Regions from separate parts of the Homo sapiens genome. Here region 1 is linked to region 2. Evidence: promoter capture Hi-C in human tissues and cell types (Jung and others, 2019). All regions are on one chromosome and are shown on one strand. Each heading gives the region's core, a stretch centred on a gene start or on the middle of the fragment in contact. The rest is flanking DNA. Distances are from core to core; before and after follow the strand shown.

Region 1 (5,158 bases), core at 2,188-4,687, 540 kb after region 2:
CCAACATGAAGAAACCCTGTCTCTACTAAAAATACAAACTTAGGGCCAGGTGCGGTGGCTCACACCTGTAATCCCAGCACTTTGGGAGGCCAAGGTGGGTGGATCATGAGGTCAGGAGATCGAGACCATCCTGGCTAACATGGTGAAACCCTGTCTCTACTAAAAATGCAAAAATTAGCCAGGCTTGGTGGCACATGCCTGTAATCCCAGCTACTCGGGAGGCTGAGGCAGGAGAATTGCCCGAACCCGGGAGGCAGAGGTTGCAGTGAGCCGAGCAGTGAGCCGAGATCATGCCACTGCACTCCAGCCTGGGTGACAGAGCGAGACTCTGTCTCAAAAAAAAAAAAAAAAAGTCAGGCATGGTAGCTCATGCCTATAATCCCAGCTACTTGGGAGGCTGAGGCAGGAGAAGTGCTTGAACCTGGGAGGCGGTTCAAGCAACAAGAGCGAAACTACGTCTCAAAAAAAAATTATAGGCAAATATTCATAACCAGAGATGCAATAATTTAGAACAAAATGTTATAAGGGCTAAATGGTAAGAGCTTATGAACACAAAGAAGGAAACAAAAGAAGGAAACAGGCCAGGCACGGTGGCTCAGCCTGTAATCCCAACACTTTGGGAGGCTGAGGCGGGCGGATCACCTGAGGTCAGGAGTTTGAGACCAGCCTGGCCAACATGGTGAAACCCCATCTCTACTAAAAATACAAAAATTAGCCGGGCGTGATGGTGAGCACTTATAATCCCAGCTACTCAGGAGGCTGAGGCAGGAGAATCACTTGCACCTGGGAGGCGGAGTTTGCAGTGAGCTGAGATCATGCCACTGCACTCCAGGGGTGACAGAGCAAGACGTTGTCTCAAAAAAAAGAAAGAAAGAAAAAAAAGGAGGAAACAACAGACACAGGTCTACTGGAGGAGGGAGAGTGGGAGGAGGGGGAGGAGCAGAAAAGCTAACTAGTGGGTACTGGGCTTAATACCTGGGTGATGTAATAATATGTACAACAAACCCCTATGACACGTGTTTACCTATGTAACAAACCTTCACATGTACCCCCAAACCTAAAATAACAATTTTTTTAAATTGCTAAATATGCCACAAAAATCATTTTAATATAGAAATAAAAGAGCTGTTTATGATTCTGAAAAAAAAAAGTTAGCAAATAGAATGCAACAGTACATAAAGAGGACAATACAACCTTGAATTTCCCAGCTTCAAAACTTACTGTAAAACTACAGTAATTAAGACAGTGTAGTACTCGCATAATCATGACATAAAAGATCAATGAAATAAAACTGACAGTCAGAAATAAACTCTAACATTTATGGTCAATTGATTTTTGACAAGGGCATCAAGACAATTCAATGGGGAAAGAATGGCCGGAGGTGGTGGCTCACGCCTGTAATCCCAGCACTTTGGGAGGCCAAAGTGGGTGGATCACTCGAGGTCAGGAGTTCGAGACCAGCCTGGCCAACATAGTGAAACCCTGTCTCTACTAAAAATACAAAATTAGCTGGGCATGGTGGTGCATTCCTGTAATCCCAGCTACTTGGGGGGCTGTGGCAGGAGAATTACTCAAACCTGGGAGGCGAAAGTTGCAGTGAGCCGAGATCGTGCCATTGCACTCCAGCCCAGGCAACAAGAGCACAACTCTATCTCAAAAAAAAAAAAAAGGTGGGCGGGGGTGGATAGAATAATCTTTTCAACAAATGATGCTGGGACACTGGAAATCCACATGCAAAAGAATGAAGTTGGATCCCTACTTTACATCATTTATAAATATTAAGTCAGGCTGGGTGCAGTAGCTCACACCTCTAATCCCAGAACTGTAGGAGGCCAAGGTGGGAGGATTGCTTGAGGCCAGAAGTTAAAGACCAGCTTAAGCAACATAGCAAAATCCCATCTTTAGTTCAAATACATTTATAAAAAATAAAAATAAGTTATTTCATGTTATATGTATTTTACCACAATAAAAATATTAATTCAAAACAGATCAAAGACCTAAATGTAAGTGCTAAAAGTATAAAACTCTTAGAGTGTAAATCTCCATGGCCTTAGACAATGGTTTCTTTTTGTTTTTCTTTCTTTTTCTTTTTCGGACATGGTATATTGCTTTGTCACCCAGGCTGGAGTGCAATGGCATGATCATGGCTCACTGAAGCTTCGACCTTCCATTCTCAAGTGATCCTCCCATCTCAGCCTCCCAAGTAGCTGGGACCACAGGCACACAGCACCATGCCTAGCTAATTCTTTAAATTTTTTTTGTAGATACAGGGTCTCATTATGTTGTCCAGGCTGGTCTTGAACTCTGGGGTTCAAGGCATTTTGCCTCCCAAAGTGCTGGAGTTATAGGCACGGGCCACTGCACCCAGCCAACAATGGTTTCTTAGATATGAGCCCCAAAGCACAAGCAATCAAAGAAAAAAATAGGTTAAATGGACTTCATTAAAATCAGCTGGTGCAGTGGTCCATGACTGTGGTCCCAATTCTTCAGGAGGCTGAGGTGGAAGTATGGATTGGGCCCAGGAGTCAGAGTCTAGCCTGGGTAACATAGTGAGACCCCCATCTCCAAAAAAAAAAAAAACAAACAAAAAAAGGAAACTACCTTTTGTGCTTCAAAAGACACTATCAAGAGGGTTAAGCAAGGAGCATTGGTTCACGCTTGTAATTCCAACACTTTGGGAGGCTGAGGCGGGAGGATCACTTGAGGCCAGAGTTTAAGACCAGCCTGGGCAGCATAGTGAGACCCTGTCTCTACAAAATATAAAGAAAATTAGCCAGGCATGGTGGCATGCAGCTGTAGTCCCAGCTACTAGAAAGGCTGAGGTGAGAAGATCATTTGAGCCTGGAAGGTTAAGGCTGCCGTGAGCCAAGATTGTGCCATTGCACTCCAGCCTGGGCAACAGAGCAAGATCCCGTCTCCAAAATTAAAACAAAAAAAAAGAAAAGAAAGTTAAGCCAGGTGTGGTGGCTCACACCTGTAACCCCGGCACTTTGGGAGGCTGAGGCAGGAGGATCACTTGATCTCAGTCGTTCGAGATCAGCCTAGGCAACATAACAAGACCCTATCTCTACAAAAAGAATTTTTTTTTTTGAGATGGAGTTTCGCTCTTGTTGCCCAGGCTGGAGTACAATGGCGAGATGTTGGCTCACCACAACCTCTGCCTTCCGGATTCAAGCGATTCTCCTGCCTCAGCCTCCCAAGTAGCTGGGATTACAGGCATGTGCCACCACGTCCAGCTAATTTTGTATTTTTAGTAGAGACAGAGTTTCACCATGTTGGCCAGGCTGGTCTTGAACTCCTGACCTCAGGTGATCCCACCCACCTCGGCCTCCCAAATTGCTGGGATTACAGGTGTGAGCCACCGTGCCCAGCCCAAAAAGAAATTTTTTAAGTTAGCTGGGCATGGTGGTGTGCACCTGTAGACCCAGCTACTTGGTAGACTGAAGTGGGAGGATTGCTTGAGCCAGGAGTTCAAGGCTGCAGTGAGCTATGATTGCACCACTGCACTCTAGGTTGGGCAACAGAGTGATACTTCATCTAAAAAAAAAAAAGAGAAAAAATTAGCCAGGCGTGGTGGCAGGTGCCTGGTATCCCAGCTACTTGGGAGGCTGAGGTAGGAGAATCACTTGAATTCAGGAGACAGAGGTTGCAGTGAGCCAAAATCACGTCACTGCACTCCACCCTAGGTGACAGAGCAAGACTCCGTCTCACACACACACACACACACACACAAAAGTAAAAAACCTGCAATAGGCTGGGTGTAGTGGTTCACACCTGTAATCCCAGCACTTTGGGAGGCCAAGGCGGCCAGATCACTTGAGGTCAGGAGTTCGAGACCAGCCTGGCCAACATGGCAAAACTCCGTGTCTACTAAAAATACAAAAATTAGCCAGTCATGGTGGTAGGCATCCGTAATCCCAGCCACTCAGGAGGCTGAGGCGGGAGGATCACTTAAACCTGGGAGGCAGAGGTTTCAATGAGCCAAGATCATGCCACTGCACTCCAGCCTGGGCTACAGAGCGAGACTTCATCTCAAAAAAAAAAAAAAATGAGCAAGTATCTTGAGTAGACATTTTTCCAAAATAGATATACAAGTGGCCTATAAGTACATAAAAAGATGCTCAACATTATTAGCCATTAGGAAAATCAAGTCAAAACCACTTTGGAAACAATTTGCCAATTTTTCAGAAAGTTAAACAGGGTTACCATATGACCAAGCAATTCCATTCCTAGGTATAAATCCAAGACAATTAAAAACATATGGCTACACAAAAGCTTGTACAGGAATGTTCATAGCAGCTTTATTCCAATACCCAAAAAATGGAAACAATCCAAATAACCACCAACTGATGAAAGGATAAACAAAATGTGGTACATCCATACAATGGAATATTGTCCATAAAGAGGAATGAAGTTAGTCTCAGCTACTGGGTATTGTGTGTGTTGGCGGCGGGTGGCGGGTTGGCGGGGGGGAGGCGGGGGGAGGTGGGAGGATTGCTTGAGCCTGGAAGGTTGAGTAACATGGTGAAACCCCATCTCTACTAAAAATACAAAAAATTAGCTGGGCATGGTGGTGCACACCTGTAGTCCCAGCTGCTCGGGAGGCCGAGGTGGGAGAATCACTTCAACTGCGAGGTTGCAGAGAGCTGAGATTGTGCCAGTGCACTCTAGCCTGGGTGACAGAGGGAGACTCCGTCTCAAAAAAAAAAAAAAGAGAAAGGTTTGTGGTCGCCTAGGGCTGGGGTGAGGTAGGGGATAGAATGAAATGGGGAGTGACTGCTAATAGGTACAGGGTTTCTTTTTAGGGTGATAAAAATGTTTTAAAATTCATTGACTATTGATATTTAGTAAATATACTAAAAACCATTGACTTGTACAATGTAAATTGGTGAAGGGGTGGGGGTGGATGGGGAAAAGGGAGATATTGATTCCAGAGTAGAAAGTTTCAGTTAGGTGGAATAGGCATTAGTGACCTACTGCACAGAATGGTGACTATAATAATGCACTGTATACTTCCGAATCGTTAACAGAGTAGATCTTAAATGTTTTCACCACAAAAAAGAGAAGCACGTGGACGGGGCGCAGTGGCTCGGGGCACGGTGGCTCACGCCTGTAATCCCAGCACTTTGGGAGGCGAAGGTGGGCAGATCACGAGGTC
Region 2 (4,733 bases), core at 2,061-4,560:
TCTCCAAGGATCGAGTTTGGCTCAAGCACAGTTCTAGGTGCTGGAGATGCAACCTTGAAGAAGCCTGATAAAAACTTCTTGCCCTCAGGAGCTCATGTACTAATGGGAGGGAGAGAGAAGCAGCATGATAATTAAGTGAATTATATAATGTGTTAGGAGATGATGGGTGCTTAAATAAAATGACACAAATAAATATGGCGGCCAAAATGGATGAGGCGCTTACTCTGTGTCTAAATGCTTTCCGCACTGCCTCATCCCTCAACTGTTCTACTTCGGTGAGTACTCTCCTCATTCCCATTTCACAGACAGGAAAACACAGAACTCAGTTGCACCAGGCTCTACAGGCAGTAAGAAAATCAGAAGTATCCGTAGGGAAGGGCAAGAGTGCACTATTTTTCCTGCTTCTGATTTTAAGAAGGGGAACACGAGCAGGACGGCTGGTTTTCTCCCTGGCCTTGAACTGGGGGAGGAGGTCTAATCACGGTATACCCCTCTCCACTCCCCACAATTCTTAAAAGAGCTGACAGGATGGTGGGCCCCTCCAATCTCTCCCTTTTCTCCCAGATCTAAGGCTTTGGAGCTAACAGCCCCAAGTTCAAATCCCAGATCCACCAGCTCATGCACTGCATGGCCAGAGCAAAGGGCTTCTACTCAGTGGAGCTCCCCTCTCCTTTGATTTAAAATGAAGATTAAAACTCCCTCTCTCAGGTGACAAGGGAATCGATGTCTGCACCCCAAAGTGTGTATACAGTGGTAGATGCTCCTTGCGTGCCAGTTCACGCACACCCCCACTCCTGGGACCCCATAAGCCCTCCTCCCTTCTCTTGGAATGCAAAGAGAGCCGGACCACATGCCACCCACCTCCTCACGGTGGGGCCTGTGGCAGAGGGCTGAGCATGGACTGGACACTTGATGAATGCTTGATGAATGCACACTGAAGCGGAGGAAGGTGCATGGGGATGGTCGAACCCTCAGTAGAACCCAGGTCCTGGAGCCTTGAAGTTCACAGAGCTTAAAGAGTGCAGGTTTGCTGGGCACACATGGCTCATCCTCCAAGGTGCAAACGTGAAGCACTGAATCCATTCTCACCATTCCGCAGTGAGCCCAAGCCCTGAGAGTATTTCCTAGTTAAGCTGGGCCCCCTGACACCTGGGCACTCAGGGACCTGAAGTATGCCAAGGGAGCCCCAGACTAGCCAGCTTCTCAGAGCTGAGCATTTCTCTCTTTAAATATCAATGCCTGACACAGGGCCCTTCCAAGGCCAAAGGCTAGAGCTGGCCTTACCCATTTTCCTTACTTCCCTTACCTGCCCCCACAAGCCACCAATTCAAGGAGCACAAGGTTGGGAGCCATGTGTGACCTGAGACCTAAGTCTACCCTTCCCATTTAGCACCCATAAAGTCCAAGATAAGGCCCTCATCCCTGGAGCCTCATTTCCTCCTTGGTAAGACGGAAGGGTGAGGTGCAGGGAGAAAGGATTAAAAGATCAAAAACAGCAATTTCCCCAGCAAGCTCAAAATCACCGGAACCTACTGAATCACACAGGGGCAGGGGGCGGCGGTGGCACGAATCCCTATGGTTGGCCTGGGTAAGGGGAGGCTTTGTGGAACCAGAAATTGATGTGCCGACCACAGCTCTTATGGCCCAGACTTAACTGATGCTATTAGGACTGACCTTGAATTCCACCAGAGGGGCTGTCCTTGTTCAAAACTGCCTAGGTCTGCTAGCCTCAGGGCTGCCCGGCAGGGGCAAGAAGCCGGCAAACATTTGCTAGCTGGTATCAGGGACCCGGACAGGCTGGAAAACCATGTCAACCAATCAAGAGGTCCAAGACCAGTGTCCTCTTTGGGCCTAAACCCCAATATATCCCATGCTATGGGGGTCATGGCAGGCTAAGGGCCTTTCTCTCTGGGTAGACTGTCACTTTACACTGCCTTCACATGCAAGAAGAGGGGAAGAAATACCTCCTGTGGCACAGGCATCTGAATCACTATTTTGTGGATGTGGAAAACCCCTCCTGGAGAACACCCCCCATCCACTAATGCCCTATTTCTGAGCTCTAAATCATGCCAGACTCTGCTAAGGGTGTTTCACGCACTCAGTCGTCACAAGCGGAGACCTTATTTTTAGCCCCAATTTGCAGGTGGTGAAACTGAGGGCGCTCGGAGACTTGCTGAGGTCAGCCAGCCGAGCGGCGACAGGGAGTTCTGAACCCAGAGCCTTTGCCCCTAACTTCTAGAATATACCGAGCTGTTCAGTAGAAAGGGCAGAGCCAGGATTCTAATCCAGCTCCTCCCTGCATTAAAGCCCTGCTCTTTTCCCAGCCAGACACCAAGTGTGGCTGCCTCAGGCCAGGACATCCCCTGGGGCTCCACACCTCAAGGGAACCTCTGGTGGAGATCTCTTCCCCCGCAGGCTTCCAGAATGCCCCATGCAACCTAGACCATGAGGCAGCTGGACCCCACAAAGGACCCATTGTGGTGACTGCAGAAAGCCAAGGCCAGACCCCGGTGGCCCTTCTGCAGAGTCCTGCCCAAGGCGCCTCCTCCCCTTCCCATGGTGCCCCCATACCCAGCGGACAGGGCTGGGGCTGAGGGAGGGAGGGGCGGGGGCAGGCCTCCCGATCTGCCCGGCCTGGGGGAGCCTCAGGCTATAGAAACTTAAAACCCTCCAGCTGCCGGCAGGCTGCATGGGGCCCCAGGCCCCTCCGGACTCATTCCAGGTGCCCTGCCCCACCTGTCAGCTGAGGTGGGGTCCACCAAGGAGGCTCAGTAGAGGGAGGAGAGGGATGCTGGGGTGTTATGGGCTGTTCCCATCTGGGAGGAGGGAGGAAATGTTTCCTAGTGTGGGGGAGGGGAATGCAAGGTATCCGGGCAGGCTGGGGAGGGGGCTCGGCGGAGGGAAGGTGGGTGGATTTGTCTCCCGCTGCACGAGGGGGCCTCCGCGGCTCTGGCTGGCTTCGTGTGCGGCAGGGGGGGGGCTCGCCTGGGGTCCCTAGGGGCCTGCGGAGGCATGCACAGGGCGGGGAGCCGCTTTTGCATGCAGGGCGGGAGGGGTCCGCGGCGTGCCGGGGCGCTCCCTCTGCCCGCTGAGGGAACTCCCGACTGGCCGGGGTCGCCACACTCACCTCCTGAAGTCAAAGGGCATCGTGCCGCCGCCGGGGGTGGGAGCGCTGCAGGCCAGGCGGGCCGCGGCGCCGCGTGGGTCCGAGCCCGCTGCCAACGCCTCCTCCGGCCGCCCCGCCCCCGCCGGCCGCCCCCCTGACACTCGCCACTCGCCACTCGCCACTCGCCTCCCGCTGCCGGGAAGTGACGCTCCGCGCAGCCCATTGGGCGCCGCCCGCCCGGCCGCCCCTTCCGCCACCCGGTTAAAGGGGCCCGCGGGCAGGCAGGGAAGGGGCGGAGAGTCGAGGCTGTCGGAAGGGAAGGGAGTCCCCCAAAGACTCCAGTACTCATTCCTTCAAGCCTCCCACTTAGATTTCCTTCTCCATCTCTTTGGATGCCCTCGGACAAATTCTCTGCTTCTCCGAGCCCAGTTTTTTGCATTTGTAAACAGTTTCACTGAACTGTGATTGAGTTGGGGGCGGGGGGCGGGGTGATACAGACTTTGGCCGTGCACAGCGTCTAGCTCTGAGTGAGGGCCTAATACTGTGGGGGAAGGGAAGAGGTCGGCCATCCTAGGCTGTTAAGGTGGACTCACCTCTGCCCCTGCCGTGTCTCTCTGGGAAAGCCACTGGGCTTCTCAGAGCGCCCCCCCCCCGCCCCGCCCCTTTTGCATATCTGCACAAAGAGGACGATGACACCTACTTGAGGGGGTTTTCCTGGGGATCAGCTGAGAAACAGGAGACTGGCTTAGCACAGTGCCAGGCACCTGAAACTATTGAGGCTGGCAGTGGCTGTCCCTGCTTCCATCTGCCCCTGTCGTTCACTCCAGTGGGCATTCACAGAGCATCTGCTCTGAACCAGGTCCATCGAGAACATGCAGGGTTGTGGCAGAGGCAGATGGGACCTGCACTGTGACTTGGCCAACGTGGACTGTGCCGATTGTCTCCTTCTTAGAGCCTCAGTTTCCTCCTCAGGAATACAGAGCAGCTGCCTCCGTGACTGCTGGATTAGAGGAGATGGTAGTTGAGGTCACACAAGACCTGAGTAGGGGAAACTCACTCTGAACTTCCCCGAGGTTCTGTCACTGGCCCTTTCTCCAAGGTTGTGGTGGGACAGGGCTTCAAAAAACCCAGGGGAGAATGGTGAGGGCTCGGGTTCCAAAAGCAGAGTCAATGGACAGTTTCCCCCTGTGTAAATAGAGGGGAACAGCAGTGCTGGTTCCTCCGGGAGGATTCAGAAGGGACAACACTAGCACGGGGTCTGGGGTAGGGTGACGTGGTGAACCAAAGCCTTCCCCTAGAGCATATGCCGGGACCTGACCTCTGCGTTCCCTTTTCATTCATTCACTCATTCATTCATTCATTCATTCAGTGTCAGTGGTCTGACACTGTTGGGGGAGAAAAGGAAATCTCAGCCTGAACTGGAAACCTAGGGACAGCAGGGAGAGTTAAGGGATCTTGAGCAGCCACTGCTTCCAAACAGCCATTCGTTGGCCCTGTGTGGGAGGAAACATGCAATGATGGATCTTTGACCTCGAATCCTCCCTCCTCAAACTGTGGTCCACAGACCAGCCACATGGCCATCACAGGACAGACTCTTGTCCCCAGGCCAGACCTACTGAATCAAGTG

The links. The method cuts DNA at HindIII sites, captures the fragments that hold promoters and counts their contacts. A contact is called where the count stands out against the background at its distance.
Region 1: a contact is called between a fragment that was not itself captured here and the fragment with the promoter of ERGIC1 in region 2, in 1 of the 25 tissues and cell types used here (dorsolateral prefrontal cortex).

The regions. Positions count from the first base shown.
Region 1 is chr5:172,287,784-172,292,941 of GRCh38, reverse strand. The region is part of intron 1 of LOC100288254 (a long non-coding RNA gene); the gene reads right to left. Among named protein-coding and RNA genes, the nearest start is that of UBTD2, 6.6 kb to the right of the region's middle. The HindIII fragment of the contact is 5,319 bases long and covers 778-5,158 here.
Region 2 is chr5:172,832,828-172,837,560 of GRCh38, reverse strand. It overlaps ERGIC1 (endoplasmic reticulum-golgi intermediate compartment 1), which reads right to left and starts at 3,310. Exons shown (of 10, transcript NM_001031711.3): 1 at 3,128-3,310. The coding sequence starts at 3,147. LOC124901135 (a long non-coding RNA gene) reads left to right here. Exons shown (of 2, transcript XR_007059054.1): 2 at 1-211. RefSeq lists enhancers at 580-1,571, 1,868-2,077, 1,572-2,564 and silencers at 2,548-2,627, 2,638-2,687, 3,058-3,457. The HindIII fragment of the contact is 25,389 bases long and covers 1-4,733 here.